Linked DNA regions of Homo sapiens: region 2 is linked to region 1. The links are contacts of gene promoters, found by promoter capture Hi-C in human tissues and cell types (Jung and others, 2019). All regions are on one chromosome and are shown on one strand. The core of a region is centred on a gene start or on the middle of the fragment in contact, and the rest is flanking DNA. Distances in the headings are between cores, read along the strand shown. Region 1 holds the start of MERTK (MER proto-oncogene, tyrosine kinase). Region 2 overlaps POLR1B (RNA polymerase I subunit B).

The links. The method cuts DNA at HindIII sites, captures the fragments that hold promoters and counts their contacts. A contact is called where the count stands out against the background at its distance.
Region 2: a fragment that was not itself captured here is called in contact with the fragment with the promoter of MERTK in region 1 in 1 of the 25 tissues and cell types used here (liver).

What each region holds. Positions count from the first base shown.
Region 1 is chr2:111,897,357-111,902,969 of GRCh38, forward strand. It overlaps MERTK (MER proto-oncogene, tyrosine kinase), which reads left to right and starts at 1,251. Exons shown (of 19, transcript NM_006343.3): 1 at 1,251-1,440. The coding sequence starts at 1,380. RefSeq lists an enhancer at 390-719. The HindIII fragment of the contact is 10,682 bases long and covers 1-5,613 here.
Region 2 is chr2:112,569,828-112,575,440 of GRCh38, forward strand. POLR1B (RNA polymerase I subunit B) reads left to right here. Exons shown (of 15, transcript NM_019014.6): 13 at 2,735-2,931; 14 at 3,735-3,988; 15 at 5,020-5,613. Among named protein-coding and RNA genes, the nearest start is that of CHCHD5, 12 kb to the right of the region's middle. The HindIII fragment of the contact is 7,111 bases long and covers 1-5,613 here.

The DNA.
Region 1 (5,613 bases), core at 1-2,500:
TTGCTGTCGGTGTAAGTAATAACCTGTCTAAACCCATCTGGGCTGCCTGTCTCCTTCCCGTAGCCAAATCTACGGGAAGTGTCCAGCCAGTGTAGGGGTCAAGGGACCGCTTGACGAGACCAACGTAAATTGAAGAGGCGTAAGGAGATGAGGCCAAAGAGGAAAGGGGACCAGGTCACGTAGAACCTCGTAGACCACTGCAGAACCTTGGCTTACGTACGCAGAGACAGCAGGAACCACTGATAGGTTTAGGGAGATTTGAGGAGAGGGACATGATTTGGCTTATGTTATGTTGTTAAAGGGACCACATTAAAATACATTCATTCTAAAAGTGTTACCTTTAAGAAACTACGTATATAAATTAAGTTACTGTTGCCATTATTAGCGTAAGTAGTTACATTTCTCTTACGACTCACTCTCTGCTACTGCCTCTTGGACCCTGCACACCTTGTGGAGGCCCATGAGAGTGACGTGCTGTGGTTCCCCCTCTCCCCACTCCTGCTCTGCACTTTGTCATTCACGTTCATCTCCCTCCTTGAGTGTCACCTCTCTCTGGCTCGTCACGGAGCCACGGCAAAGCGTCCTTTCCCAGGAACCCCTCCCCCTGGGGAGGTGAGCTCCTCGCCGCCAGGGCCGTGTCGCGCACCTCGGGCCGGGTACCCAGGCGGCGCTCGGCGGCGAGCGGAATGGATGTGGAGGAGCGCTCGGCAGGGAGCGCTGCCGCCCTGGCCTTGGCCTCTGGGAGCGGCGCGGCCAGGGTTTTCTGTGTCAGCCAAGCCCGGAATGCGGGGGCGCCTCTGGACCCTCCTCTTGGGTCTGGGGGCTGCCTCGGGCATCCTCTACTCCTCTCCCACCTTCTGTCCTTCCCCATCTCCCACCCACACGTGTGGGGCCCCGGACCCGCGCAGCGGCCAGAGCCTTCCGCTGTGGACCTCCAGTCCACCCCTCCCCTTCACTTCTCTTTCCGGCTCCCTCCGGGTCTCTCAGCCCCCTCCCCTTCCTCTCCGCCCCCTTCCCCGCCGTCTGCCCAGCGGCGGCCTTCGGCCCGCCCCTTCTCTCCAACCCCCTCCCTTTCCCCTTTACGCCCCTCCTCCCCCTCGTCCTCCCGCCCCCTCCCACCCCAACCTGCTGGGCCCGCCGGGACTCGCCCCCCTGCCCGCTCCTCTCCTCCAGCCCCGGCCGGCCTCGGCTCGGCCCCCGGCCCGCCCCTTCCAGCCCTCGGCACCTCCCGCCGGCCGCTTGGCTCCGCCACTCGGCACTCACTGCCCGGGCCGCCCGGACAGGGAGCTTCGCTGGCGCGCTTGGCCGGCGACAGGACAGGTTCGGGACGTCCATCTGTCCATCCGTCCGGAGAGAAATTACAGATCCGCAGCCCCGGGATGGGGCCGGCCCCGCTGCCGCTGCTGCTGGGCCTCTTCCTCCCCGCGCTCTGGCGTAGAGGTGAGTGCGCCCGGCTGGGGGCCAGGCGAGGGGGTGGGGGCTCCCAGGAGGAAGCAGGGGCCTCTGGGGAGGGAGCGCGTCCACAGGGGCGCGCCTGGCTGCTGGACAAGTTTGCAAACACCCTCCACCCACTGCGGTGCCAGAGGAGGGGGCGTAGGCGAACCTACCGTCCACTGACCGCGGCGCCTCAAGCGTCCCGAGGGCACCCAGCCTGGCTTGCGGGTGCGCATCGTGGTGAAGCCGGGTCGGGGTCGGCGTTGCAGGCTCCCCTCTTCACCGCAGAGGAGGAAATCGAGCTCGGCCGGGCGCGCTGCAAGTCCTGAAGTTCCGACGAGTGGAACGTAGGTAGCAGGTCTGGTCTGGGATGCGACGAGAACTTTCCACTAGAGTTGCATGGTGGGGCCCCGCTCTGGCCGGAGTCCCGGGGGCCACAGATCCGGTCTCCCGAGGGACCGGCGCGGGGCGAACGAACGGGCTGCGGGAGTCGGAGCCGCAGTCCGGGAGCCGCGATAGACTGAGGCCGAGCGACGGGCCAGGGGGGGACGGCAGTCCTGGCTGCTCCCAATGGGCCCTTACGGGCATTATTAGTATCCCTTTTTAGGGGCACCCAGAGAGTGTGGGAAAAGGGGAGCGTTCTTTTCACTCCTGTTATGGCAGAACAGAACTTACAGTGCTCGGCAGCGTTTACGTTTATCTGGATTCAGCGAAGTGTTGTTACAGGCTTTTTTTTTTTTAATTTGAGACCGAGTCTCGCCCTGTCGCCCAGGCTGGAGTGCCGCGGCGCGATCTCGGCTCACTGCAGGCTCCGCCTCCCGGGTTCAAGCGATTCTCCTGCCTCAGCCTCCCGAGTAGCTGAGACTATAGACGCGCGCTACCACGTCCGGCTAATTTTTGTATTTTTAGTAGAGACGGGGTTTCACCATGTTGGCCAGGATGGTCTCGATCTCTTGACCTCGTGATCTGCTCTCCTTGGCCTCCCAAAGTTCTGGGATTACAGTCGTGAGCCACCGCGCCCGGCTTGTTCCAGGCATTTTAATACAAGATGCTGGACTGATACGTGGAGGCAAGGAAGGCCGGTTTCATTCTGCTTGAACAGCTTATTTGGGGAGTGAGTGATGAACAGATTTCAAGTTTGATCGCTGATGCACTTCTTGAGGAGGCTGGAATAAACTTACCAGGCTTTACCCAAAAGAAAAAGAAAGGGGAAAAATGCTAAATAAACACATTCCAAGTATTTTCTCTCAGCTAAAAGGTTTCTATTTCCATTCAGCATGTAGATTTTCTCTCTTTTGATCGAGAATGCACTTGACTAGCCTTCACCTATTACAGTCAAAGATGTTTTTTAGGAATACCTGGAAAGCTCAGTTTATAGTCAAGTAAGTTACTTAAAAGTTTTTCCTTTGAGATTTTCCTTTGAAAGCTCATTTACTCAAATGAAAAATTCTTAAACAGTGCACCCACTTTTTGCACGTTAAATTACATAAGCAATTTATAATTTGGGGCAACATAGCAATTTGAAACAAACTTTAAGAGCCAGGCAAAGAACTAAAGCAGTTCTGTTCTCCACTGCCCCTCCCTCCACCAAACCTTCAAAAATTCCTCAGCATTTCTGCCAGCCCCATTTTTCATAATCTGCTGCAAATCTGTTATTTGTTGCTACTAGTGAGGACTGGCCGTGAATAGTCTTGGAGGTAGTGAATGTGGTGAGAACTATGGAGAAAGTAATGGGAACAATAGTTTTGTGTTAAATACTTAAAAATTGGAGTGCTTTTGTTTTTCTAAAATTTTAAAAGGCTGTAATAACAAATTTTTGTAGCTGACAATCAACTTTAATCAGACAATCATAAAAAGGCCTTTTAAAATCCACCCAGCTGGAAGAATGAAAAGTTTCACCAATCGTTCTTGCACTTTTTGCTTTTGGTTTTGAACTTTACCTATGAGATGTGTGACAGTTTTACATCTCACCTTGTGAAAAGCTTAAAGAATGGGATTCTCACTGGCAGAATTACAGCACAAAGGAGTGCTGTATGAAGAAATTAAACATGGAAATTAGACTCTTCATCTAATTTTAAGATTTTCCTATTACACATTGTGGGTCTGAGTGCTTTGCTGACCACACAGGGGAGACAGAGAGAGAGACAATGAGAATATGTGTGTAGATTCTACACTGTTAGCAGTATAGAAGAATGGGTAAATAAAATTTAAGCATCACTTTAACCCAGGAAATCCCCTCTGCCCCCCAACACACATACACACTACACGTCTCACAAAGACATGCACACACAGAACTGGAACTGCCAAACCAGGAGCATTTCGAGGCTTTCCAGTCTTTCCTTTCTGCTCAGTCTCTGATGGGGGTGCCATTGAGCAGCAAAATGAGGCAAGCGGTGGCTCTCTGAAGGGCCAGGGAGAGGATGGAGCAAGATAAATATAAATGTGGATAAAAATGAATGCATTATGAGGACTTAGCTCATGACGAGGCTGTGTGTGCAGCTAAACTCAACCCTTAGAGTAAATTAGGCTTTTAAGATTCTTTAATGTTAATATTTCTTTTCCAAACTGATATTGTAACATGTATTCCAGTATATTGTAAACATCTTCCCAGAGGGAACTTTTAAGTTGTTCTGTTGCTTGTGGGCTTTATTCCAAAGGCTTCAAATGCTTTTTGAAAGTACATCGTGCATATTTTAAAAATGAATACTTTTAGAAAATTATTCTGACCCATTAAAGTGCTGAGTGGAATTCTTTTCTTTTCTTTCTTTCTTTTTTTTTTTTTTTTGGCAGGTTCTCATTCTGCCACCCAGGCTAGAGTGCAGTGGCACCATCACGGCTCACTGCAACCTCAACCTTCCGGGCTCAAGTGATCCTCCCACCTCAGCCTCCCAAGTAGCTATGACCACAGGCACATACCACCATGCCTGGCTAATTTTTTATTTTTTGTAGAGACAGGATCTCACTATGTTGCCCAGGCTGGTCTTGAACTCCTGGGCTCAAGCGATCTTCCCACCTTAGCCTCTCAGAGTGTGGGGATTATAGGCATGAGCCACCATGCACAGCTGAATACAATTTTTAAAAAATTAACAATAATTATGTTTTTTTGTTTTTGAGATAGAGTTTCACTCTTGCTGTCCAGGCTAGAGTGCAATGGCACAATCTCGGCTCACCGCAACTTCCCGCCTCCCGGGTTCAAGCAGTTCTCCTGCCTCAGCCTCCTGAGTAGCTGGGATTACAGGCATGCACCACCACGCCTGGCTAATTTTGTATTTTTGGTAGAGACAGGGTTTCTCCGTGTTGGTTAGGTTGGTCTCGAACTCCCAACCTCAGGTGATCTGCCTGCCTTGGCCTCCCAAAGTGCTGGGATTACAGGCATGAGCCACCACACCCAGCCAATAATTATATTTTTAAATCTTAATTTTTGAAATAATTTCCAGATAATTGTAGAAGGGCCAGTGAGTTACTAGTCAGCATTGGTCAAGAAGAGGTTCAATCTTTTTATGCCTGTGAATTGGGAACATGCTGCTGGGTAGAAAAACTGAGCTGGGACCTTGAACACACATGTGAAACAGTCGCTTTCCATATAATAGCCAGAATGAGATTTTGGAAACGAATCTGATTGTATTTTCCATTTGAAAATCTTCCAGTGGCTTCCTGTTCCCTACTAGAATTTGCAGAGACTCACAGCGAACCTCTTTGACCCATTTCCATTCACTTCCCTCTTGTTCCTACCACTCCAGCCACCTGTGTCTTCTTTCTAGGGCCTGAGCAGCCTTTGCAGTGACTCTTCCCTCTGGCTGGAACCTTTTTCCCAAGATCTCGGCATGCTGGCTTCTTCTCATCCTTTGGGTTTCAGTTCAGAGGTTCTCCTTGAGAAGCCTTCCCCAATAACCACCCCCTGCCAAAGTATCATATGCATACACCCCACTATCCCTTAAATTTAATTTCCTGATAATGCTTCTCACAACCTGATCAGTTCCTTCCTTCCTTCCTTCCTTCCTCCCTCCCTCCCTCCCTCTATTTCTTTATTGACAGAGTCTTGCAATGGCAAATTCTCTGCTCACTGCAACCTCCGCCTCCCAGGTTCAAGCAATTCTCCTGCCTCAGCCTTCCCAGTAGCTGGGATTACAGGCACCTGCCACCACAGCTGGCTAATTTTTGTATTTTTAGTAGAGACAG
Region 2 (5,613 bases), core at 2,190-4,689, 670 kb after region 1:
GTATTACAGGCGTGAGCCACTGCGCCCGGCCTCAAATTTTGTTTTTTTTCAGTTTAATTAAATTGCTAAACTCTTCTGTCATTATTTTTAAAAACATTGCTCCTATCCTTTTCTCTCTTTCCTCCTCTTCTATCAGTTATTCATATATTTAAACCTTTTGATATTGTTCCATAAGACATTGAGTTTCTGTTCTCTTTTTTCTTTATTTTCTTCAGATTGGATCTTTTTTTTTTTTTCCCGAGATGGAGTCTCACTTTGTTGCCCAGACTGGAGTGCAGTGGTACAATCTCGGCTCACTGCAACCTCTGCCTCCCATGTTCAATAAATTCTCCTGCCTCAGCCTCCTGAGGAGCTGGGATTACAGGCACACACCACCATGCCCAGCTAATTTTTGTGTTTTAGTAGAGATACGGTTTCACCATGTTGGCCTGGCTGGTCTCAAACTCCTGACCTGAAGTGATCTGCCTGCCTCAGCCTCCCAAAATGCTGGGGTTACAGGTGTGAGCCACTGCACCTGGCCCAGATTGGATTATTTTTATTGACCTATTATCACAGTCACTTTTTATTCTGTCTTCTACTGAATTTTTGCTTACAGTCATGTGCCCTTAACGACAGGGATACCTTCGAAGAAGTGAGTCATATGTGATTTTGTCGTAGTGTGAACATCATAGAGTGAACTTACACAAACCTAGATGGCAGAGACTACTACACACCTAGTATATGGTATAGCCTGTTGCTCCTAGGCTACAAACCTGGGTGGCATGTAACTGTACTGTGTACTGTCTACAGTTGTAAGACAATGGCAAGGATTTGTGTAGCTAAACATAGAAAAGGTACAGTAAAAATATGGGATCACCATAGTATATATGCCATCCTGCATTGACTAAAACATTGTTATGCAGTGCATGCCTGTATTTTTCAAGTCCAGCACTTCTACTTGTTTCTTTTTTTTTTCTTTTTTTTTTTTTTGAGACAGGGTATCGCTCTGTCACCCAGGCTGGAGTGCAGTGGCACGATCTTGGCTCACTGCAACCTCTGCCTCCCCAGTTCAAGCAATTTTCCTGCCTCTACCTCCTGAGTAGCTGAGATTACAGGCATGTGCCACCATGCCCAGCTAATTTTTTGTATTTTTAGTAGAGGCAGGGTTTTATCATGTTGGCCAGGCTGGTCTCAAACTCCTGACCTCAAATGATCTGCCTGCCTCAGCCTCCCAAAGTGCTGGGATTACAGGCATGAGCCATTGCGCCTGGCCTGACTTGTTTCTTTTTTTATAGTTTCTTTCTTCTCTAAGATTTCTTATCTTCATTCATTGTGGGCATGTTTTCCTTTATATTTTGAACATAGTTTTATATGATGGGTGTTGTAAAATCATTATCTGCAGATTCCAATGTCTGGGTCATCTTAGTATCAGTCTCTTTGAGTATAAGTCAAGTTTCACCATTTCTTTGTATGCCCAGTAATATCGGATTGTATTATGAACATTGCGAGGAGTATGTTTTAAACCCTGGATCCTGTTAGGGTCCTCTGAAGAGGATTGGTTTTGTTTGTTTTTAGTGTGGTGTTTGGCCTTCAATTACATTTTAATTTTTTTCATTTTATGTCTTTCCTTCTTAATACACAGTCCATCACCTGGTTCAGTGCATGTCACCAAAAATTCTCCAGGGGAAGAGGATTGGTTTTTAGTTTTCACTGGTACTTAACTTGGTGAACGTGGCAGTTGAAGTACATTCTTCAGCCTTAGGTGGGCTGCTGTGATCTGTCCCATGCATGCATAGTTCAGGAGTCCACCAAAGATTCGGACCCAATTTATATGCTGAATTTAAGGGTCTCCCTTTGTGGTTCTCTCATTTCTGAAATGTTCCCCCTTCCCAATTGTTGTCATGCTCAGAACTCTATTTCTTGGTTCTTCAAGCCAGTAAGATTGTGGGTTTCTATCTAAGTTGTAGCTGCCACACTGGGCCATAAGGCAAAAATAAATACATAAATACTTAAAAACCTGGAAATTCACCCAGTGTGTTCCTTTTGTCCAAGTAAAAATTCTTCTCAGCTTCTGACAGCTTTTGGTTACTCTCCAGTGCTGTATGTGTAGTTGGGGGTCTGCGTCTCATACTTATGTGTTGAGGGTGGTCTAGTAAGAGTAGCCCTTTATTACTGGAAGCTCTAAGTCTATAATTTTTTTAAAAATTTCACTTGTATGTATTTATATTTTAAAATCATTTTGTCGTGAAATGATTCTCTGTACTGTGAGGTAGTACACAGAGGAATCTCACCCCATGCTCCACTACTTAGAATTAAATACATATTCCGCTGTAAGAAAGTAATCTAATTACGTAATAATTCCTATCCCCTTTTCTTCCCCGAGTAGTGATAGCCTGTAATTTGCGTACTTCCTTTCTGTCCCCTTCTAAAGCTTTTATTACATCATACATGTATCCATAAACTAAGTATAGAATTGTTTGGGGTGTGTTGCAAATACACATAAATCGTATCATATTAAATGTCAGTCTGCACTTTCTCCCACTCAGCATGGTTTTCCTGGTCTGGTCACGTTGATACATTTAGGTTTACTTCATTTTCACAGCTTATGTATTAGTCTAAAGTAAGCATAACTACCATGACTATTTATTTGTTCATTTTCCTCTGATGGATATTTAGTTGTTTCCAGTGTTGCGTATCACACCTATAATCAAGATGAAAGCAGCAGAAAATGCTAAGATGTTTTTTCTCCATGTAGGTAAGCAAACTATGGGCTTTCCACTTCTCACTTATCAAGACCGATCGGATAACAAACTGTATCGTCTTCAGACTCCTCAGAGTCCCTTGGTGAGACCCTCCATGTATGATTATTATGACATGGATAACTATCCAATTGGGACCAATGCCATCGTTGCTGTGATTTCTTACACTGGCTATGATATGGAAGATGCCATGGTAAGTTTTACCAGGAAATGTTGTTCCAATCTTTTTATTTTTTAACTTGTTTGTTTACTGTGAAATCACTGAAGGAATATTTTTGTGTACCCAAGTACCTAGTATTTGGCACGTGATGTTCTATTAAATGATTAGTTCTTAGTCTAAGTTGAAAGTGGGCAAGCCTTGAGGAATATCCACTAAATATTCAGATACACGTATGTCTTGCATATTTGAGTGCATATTATGAGTAAATTTTGAAGTTTGGTTTTGGATCTATCTACCTTTTATATTTAAGTATGATTAGATTTTAAGCTATTTCTGTGTGCCTGGGTTTTTGTTTTTCTTGTTTTTTGTTTGTTTGTTTTTTGTTTTTTATTTTTGAGACGGAGTCTCGCTCTGTTGCCCAGGCTGGAGTGCAGTGGCACGATCTTGGCTCACTGCAACCTCCACCTTCTGGGTTCAAGCAGTTCTCCTGCCTCAGCCTCTCGAATAGCTGGGACTACAGGCACCCATCACCATGCCTGGCTAATTTTCGTGTTTTTAGTAGAGATGGGGTTTCACCATGTTGGCCAGGCTGGTCTCGAACTCCTGACCTCAAGTGATCCACCTGCCTTGGCCTCCCAAAGTGCTGGAATTACAGGCGTGAGCCACCGTGCCCAGCCATGTCTGGGTTTTTGTAGTTAGTATCAGTGATTTGGAAAATGTGAGGAAAGTTAAAATGTGATGCCAGTTATCCTAAACCAAGTATGATAGTCCCACCTAGTTTTATTTTGAAAATCCTCAATTGGCCTCAGTCTTTTAACGATTCTTTTACTTCACAGATTGTGAATAAGGCCTCTTGGGAACGAGGCTTTGCCCATGGAAGTGTCTACAAGTCTGAGTTCATAGACCTCTCTGAAAAAATTAAACAAGGAGATAGTAGCCTGGTGTTTGGCATCAAACCTGGTGACCCACGCGTTCTGCAGAAGTTAGATGACGATGGATTGCCGTTTATAGGAGCAAAACTGCAGTACGGAGATCCGTATTACAGCTACCTCAACCTCAACACCGGGGAAAGTTTTGTGATGTACTATAAGTAAGTTTGGGTATCCAAGCTGTTTTGTTTTTGTTTTTGTTTTTGTTTTGAGACAGGGTCTCAGTGTGTCAGCCGGGCTGGAGTGCAGTGGAGTGATCTCAGCTCACTACAACCACCACCTCCCGGGCTCAAGCAATCCTCTCGCCTCAGCCTTTGAGTAGCTGGGACTCCAGGCATGGACCACCATGCCCAGCTAATTTTTTGTATTTTTAGTATAGACGGTTTCACCATGTTGCCCAGGTAGGTCTCGAACTCCTGGGCTCAAGTGATCCACCTGCTTCAGCCTCCCAAAGTGCTAGGATTACAGGCCTGAGCCACCATCCCTGGCCTATTTGTGCTTTTTTTAAAAACTGTATTATCCAAACTTTGTCATCTTTCTCACATACAATGTTAGCAATGTTTCCTAGCCAAAATGTTGAGCTCATACCTCTTATTAGAAATGTCTTATTTTAGCTTATTTTACAATATAATTTATTTCAATAGGCTTTCATAATAATTTTTCAGTTGCTTTTGTTGCTAGTTTTCTTTCAGATGAACATAATTCTGTAGTGAATATCACCAATAGCTCTATTCATACCATCTCTGTTTGTATTGGAGAATAAAGGTAAGAATGAGTTTTGCAGGCCAGGCACAGTAGTTCACACCTGCAATCCCAACACTTTGGGAGACCAAAACAGGAGGATTCCTTAAGCACAGGAGTTCATGATCAGTCTGGGCAATGTAGTGGGGCCCTATCTCTACAAAAAAAATTTAAAGACTAGCCAGGCCTAGTGGCATATACCTGTAGTCCCAGCTACTCAGGAGGCTGAGGTGGGAGGATTGCTTGAACCCGGAAAGTCAAGGCTGCAGTGAGCTGTAATTGCACCACCGCACTCCAGCCTGGGCAACAGAGTGAGACCCTGTATCATAAAAAAAAAAAAAAAAAAAAAAGTTTTACAAATATCCTTTATGAAGCACTAATTATATCAATGAAACTTATCTCCATAAGTTAAAACAAATAGGTTGACCTTATATGGTTTACTTTTTCCTAGGAGTAAAGAAAATTGTGTTGTGGATAACATCAAAGTGTGCAGTAATGACACTGGGAGTGGAAAATTCAAGTGTGTTTGCATCACTATGAGAGTGCCTCGGAACCCAACTATCGGAGATAAATTTGCCAGTCGCCATGGGCAGAAGGGCATTTTAAGCAGATTGTGGCCGGCTGAGGACATGCCTTTTACTGAGAGTGGGATGGTCCCAGACATTCTGTTCAATCCCCATGGTTTTCCATCCCGCATGACCATTGGGATGTTAATTGAGAGTATGGCCGGGAAGTCTGCAGCTTTGCATGGTCTCTGCCATGATGCTACACCCTTCATCTTCTCAGAGGAGAACTCGGCCTTAGAATACTTTGGTGAGATGTTAAAGGCTGCTGGCTACAATTTCTATGGCACCGAGAGGTTATATAGTGGCATCAGTGGGCTAGAACTGGAAGCAGACATCTTCATAGGAGTGGTTTATTATCAGCGCTTACGCCATATGGTCTCAGACAAATTTCAAGTAAGGACAACTGGAGCCCGAGACAGAGTCACCAACCAGCCTATTGGGGGAAGAAATGTCCAGGGTGGAATCCGTTTTGGGGAGAT